2 separate regions of the Homo sapiens genome follow, and region 1 is linked to region 2. The links are contacts of gene promoters, found by promoter capture Hi-C in blood cells and fetal thymus (Javierre and others, 2016). All regions are on one chromosome and are shown on one strand. The core of a region is centred on a gene start or on the middle of the fragment in contact, and the rest is flanking DNA. Distances in the headings are between cores, read along the strand shown.

Region 1 (2,700 bases), core at 25-2,524, 170 kb before region 2:
TTTCCTGTTAGCGCCCGTGATTACTCTGGATTTGCTGAAACGAGAGCCGGGAGACAGTTCTTCAGAGATCATTACTTTGCCCACACCATCGAGACAGATCTGTCCGGGAGTGTGAGCTCATTATGTGTCTGTCTTGCCCTAATAGATGGCACAATCCTTTAGGGAAGGCCGGGGAGGGATTTACTCACCTTCTTAATCCCCATCCCAGTAGTGCCTGGCACACAGTGGAGGCTCCATACAAGCTTGAGACGTGAGCATGGGATAGAAAATTGCATCTGCTTCTGAGAATGTGAAAGGGGCTGTCTGAAAACTGACCCTACATTATTAGTTCGGGTACTAATGGTAGCGGCCACAGTAGACAAACCTTCAAGTCTCAGGTTTAGATCTCACTCTCAAAGCCTGATGTGGGTTCGGTGGCTCTCTGCTTTCTTGCAGCTACTCCTCTGTAGAGGATGAGAGAGATGGAGGCCTCCAGGACAGGGAAAGAAAGAGATGGAGAAGCCACACTAGCTCTTAATGACCTCAGCCTGGGTGGAAGCCCGAAGCTGCTGCTCAGATTTCTTTGGCCACACTAGTCATGCAGCCCCAACCTAATGTCGGGGGAGGAGGGAGACAGGACAAGAGGTGGAGGAGTGTAGGTGAGTGTTGTCTCTGGCACTGTTATTCTGAACAGCAACTGGCCAGATGAGTGCATTTGTGCAGGTGTAAGGATGTTCACAATGGAAATCTCTTTAAAAGGAGCTTTTTTAAAAAATCAGAGTTTTCATCCAGAAGAGAAAAGTGAAAGATGGTTTGCTTTCGAAATGCCAGAAGTCTCTTGAGAAAACTGGGCCTGGGGTGTCTGGGCAGAGGCTAAGGGTTCCCAATGAGGGGATTGTTGGAGGTTGGGAGGAGTTGCCTGGTGGTGACCTTGCTTGGCAGTGAGGGACGGCTTCCAGTTCGGAATGTTAGGCTACACTTCCACACCTTCTCAGCACTCAGGCCGAGGATCCTGGATGCATTTCCAATTCCAATGTCTTTTGAAATCTGTCTTTTCTCTCTGAAAGAAATGACTGTTATTGATTAGTAAAAGCTTGCTGTTTTCGCTTAAGGCTCTCAGTCATTTCTAATTATGGCTCCAACCTGGATGTCTTTTTAAAACTCACTTCTTCAGGAGGGGACGTTGGTCTGGACAGCAGCACGGGGTCTGGGTCTTGCTGCACGAGCTCAGCACCAAATTTATCACTGGTTTGCTTCTCCAGCCCCACTGAGCAAGGCATCTGTGATCCTTGAGTCTAAAAGTGATAGCAGTGCCCTGTTTCACAATTTTGTCACAAGGCTAAGACTCATACAACTGGAAGTGATGACAATTTCTGCTATTTAAGTGCCTGTTTCATGGATAGCCCAATGCTAATGATTTATATAAGTTATTTCTAAACCTTACAAAGTCAGGATTATGATCACACCTACTTTACATGTAAGAAAAATGGAAGCTTTGGGAGGTTAAAGATATAGGCCAGGCGCGGTGGCTCACACCTGTAGTCCTAGCACTTTGGGAGGCTGAGGCGGGCAGATAACCTGAGGTCAGGAGTTCAGCCACAGGTAACATGGTGAAACCTCATTGCTACTAAAAATACAAAAAATTGGCTGGGTGTGGTGGTGCGCTCCTGTAATCCCAGCTACTCAGGAGGCTGAGGCAGGAGAATCGCTTGAACCCAGGAGGCTGAGGTTGCAGTGAGCCGAGATCGTGCCATTGCACTCAAGCTTGGACAATCAGAAAGAAACTCCATCTCAGAAAAAAAAAAAAAAAAGAAGTTGTAACTAGTTCAAAGTTACAGCAAATGATGGAGTCAGTTTCAAATTCGCCGGATACGAATTTGGTTATATGACTGTTAACTTTATAGTCATATACTCATATTTATGTTATATGACTGTTACTTTATAGTGAAGGAATGACTGTTACTTTATGGTCATATACTCATATTTATGTTATATGACTGTTACTTTATAGTGAAGAAAGGGGCTTCAGGGACACTGTGGGACCCTCCCAAAGTGACCCAGTTTATTATTGATAAAACAACAACCAAGCCTGGGGCTCATGAATGTCAGTCCAGTGTTCACCTACGGCCCCATGTTACCCAATGCACATTTATGCATGATTCCCTTATCATTAGACAAGAGTAGATTTATGTTCACAGGAGGAAGTCAGGAGCCCTTGGGGGGCAAGTGGGCACTTATCCAGTAGCCCGTGAGTACCTTGACCCCTTTGCAGGGAGGCCCAATCCTCACCTGTAAATAGCCTCATTGGCTGGAGCCTTGGGACTTGGAAGGCACCTGTGATATTCTGAAATATATGTTTGGTCTTCATCTCCCATTTTCTGAAATATAATTGCTAAAAACCTTAGAATCTCTGGAGTGGTAAGAGTGTATTTTTGTATGCTAGTGAGATGACTGGTGGCTGGGGTCCCCAGGTAGCCTCAGGATGGGGCTGATCACTAGAAAGAGCAAGGCAGGATTAGACGGTTGGGGCTCTCAGCCATGCCCTCCATCAATGGGGCAGGGAGGAACTGAATTGGTCACCAACTAATGATGTTGTAATCAATCATGTCCATGTAATGAAGTCTCCAGAAAAACCAAGAAGGACTGAATTTAGGGAGCTTCCAGAGAGCTGAACACATGAAGGCTCTTGGGGGATGGTGGCCCAGAGGCTCTGAGCTCTTC
Region 2 (2,700 bases), core at 72-2,571:
TATCCAGAATCTAAAACTTTTTTGGTTGCCAACATGCCACCACAAGTGGAAAATTCCGCACCTGGCCTTAGGTGACAGATGGCAGCTAAAACACAGTCAAAGCTTTGTTTCAGGCACAAACTCATTTAAAATATTGTATAAAATTACCTCCAGGCCATGTGCATAAGATGTATATGAAACATAAATGAATTTCGTGTTTGTTCAGACTTGGGTCCCACCACCAAGATACCTCATTATGTATATGCAAATATTCCAAAATCCAATATATATATATATATATATATATATATATATATATATATATATTCCAAATCTGATAAGAGATGCACACCCTGTAGAGCAAATCCAGATCTGTTCTGAGTTGGAAGTTCAGAAACTAATTCAGCAATGACTACACTTCTGGTGCTTGCAGTATCCCATAATTAGTTGGATGTCATAATAATCCCTATTCTCTTTTTTACAATGGCACTCTTACATCTTACAAAATACTTTAAAGGATTTAATGTTATTTTAAGAATTTTTGGATAAGTTCTTTAAGCCCACTGACAAAATTGAAACAATCCTGGGGGCTTGTGAAATCTGGGTTGGAGATTGTAGAACTTTGTTTTTAGAAGTATCATCTTTCCCTGAATCTTTCATTACCTACCTGATTTATTCAACTCTAATTTTGCAATAAAATGGAATTCTTTTTCTCTCAAATTTGTTTCCTTAAATCAGAATACCCAATCTAATTCCCATCTGTAGATCTGCAGCTTGTGGAATCATTTCATGTCATTCTTTTTAAATTGGCCAACAGCATCCATTTAACAAGCTATTTCCCATAGCAAAGATATCCTTAGTTATGATTTTGGATTTAAGCTGCACTAAAATATAAGGAAATATTGAAACCTTTGAAGAAAGCACTAACTTTACTTCCTTCTTCCAGATCTAGGGATCCCTGGTTACTCCTGAATTACTCCCATCATCCAAAGCTGCTCTCTTCTGCTTATATATAATTTGAGGGAAGCACAATTCTAAGAAGTTACGAACCACCCCTAAGTTATGACTTTTCTAAACATTCCAAGTATTATGATGACTTTCAGACTGGAGATTTGTGCTATCTGCCCAGTCAAAGTCAGCCAGCCATGGTGCATTCAGAACATGTGTTGTCAACAAAAACTGGCATCATAGAAGTGGCTAAAGGTGTACCTCACAGGCCTGGCATCAGGTTCATCAGAGGCACTGCACGTTGAGAAACAGTGGGGTAAAGTGACATCACCAAGGTGAACAGGTGAAATTCAGCTCCACCTTCAAAAGTTATTCTTAGGGAAGAAAATCATCTCTTCTCTCTTCCTCCTTCGGCTCCTGTTGGCCGGTGCCTTCCTGAACCTGAAGAATATCTTTGCTCTTTCCAACTCCCACATTCAAAACAGAGTCTTACAACTCAGCCACATTTTCTGCTGAGCCAGCCAGTGGGAACAAACACCAAGGTCTGTGGCAACCAAAGGTGTATGTGTGTGTGTGTGAGTGTGTGTGTGAGAGAGTGTGTGTGAGAGAGAATGTGAGTACATATTTATTTGTGTTTGTGTGTAGTGTGAGTGGGTGTATGTGTCTGAGTGTTTGCATGTGCGTGAGAGTGTCTATGTGTGTGTTGATATGTGCATTTGTGTGTTGTGAGTGTATGGTTGTGTTTGTGTCTGTGTGTGTGGTATGAGTGTGTGCATGTGTATCTCTGCATGTGTGTTTTTGTGGGGTTTGTGTGTATGCATTAATGTGTGTGGGGGCGGTATGTGTGTGTTTCTGTGTGTGTGTGTGTATTGCTTTTCTTCTAGTCTCCTCCTCCACGCCATCAGCCCACGCAATCCACACCTCATAAAACAGAACCCACATCTCCATCCTACTACAAGGAACTGGAGAAAAAAGAAAAAAAAACAAGCAACAAACCCTCCTGCCAGTCAGAGCCCAAGGAGAAAACTGGATGTAGATTTCAATCCACCCTCCCAGGTCTGCAGGTGTGAGAGAAGGTCACCTTTCTTGAATATCATGACAGTTTTCAGTGTGTGTGACTCATCTATGTTATTCCAGTTCTCCTTCATTAGGGGGATAAAATGCTTTTCTATATTTAATGAATGCCAGTGATTCAGGAGTTTGAGAGAGGTGGGCCCTAATTAGTCAAGCAGGGTTTCCATTACACAGAAAGCTTGAAAGGAAGGATTTTGGCTATTCCTGTGCCAGCAGCCAGAAGCCCAAGCCACACCAGAATAGGGAGGCGTCGTTTTGTTGTCAGTCACCAAGAGAACCAGAGAAAGAGTTGTGAAACCAGGCTAAGGCCCTGGCACTGGCTTCCTTGTCTGTAAAATGTGAGTGCTAGACTGGAGTTCTGGATCTCTGCCAGCTCACAGATGATATGACTCTCTAAAGTATTTGGTCAATATTAGGCAGTCCCCACTGGAAAGCTGGCTTAATAGACAACTTGCAGGCTTAGTCCTGAGAAAGCCTCATGACGTTACTAAGGAATATAGTAGAGAATCCAAAGAGGAGAGGGAGAACTCTACCTACTTTGGTGGAATAAATAGGGTTTTTTAATGAGAGAAGAGTAAGCCCTAGCCCAAATTGTGTAGCAGCCACGGTTCACGTCCAGCTCCTGCATAATCCTTTTTCCCTATCAATCTCAGTAAAGGATTTAAAATCAGTGACTTCTTGTTTTGATGGTTTTGAAGT

Evidence for each region. Contacts are between HindIII fragments. The CHiCAGO score rates a contact against its expected background, and 5 or more counts as called.
Region 1: a contact is called between a fragment that was not itself captured here and the fragment with the promoter of LINC00572 in region 2, in 5 of 17 cell types (non-activated CD4 T cells, total CD8 T cells, total CD4 T cells and 2 more). The highest score is 6.0, in non-activated CD4 T cells.

Annotation. Positions count from the first base shown.
Region 1 is chr13:30,096,510-30,099,209 of GRCh38, reverse strand. No RefSeq gene overlaps it. Among named protein-coding and RNA genes, the nearest start is that of LINC00365, 11 kb to the left of the region's middle. The HindIII fragment of the contact is 400 bases long and covers 1,075-1,474 here.
Region 2 is chr13:29,925,272-29,927,971 of GRCh38, reverse strand. It overlaps LINC00572 (long intergenic non-protein coding RNA 572), which reads left to right and starts at 1,321. Exons shown (of 2, transcript NR_047501.1): 1 at 1,321-1,469. The HindIII fragment of the contact is 2,077 bases long and covers 105-2,181 here.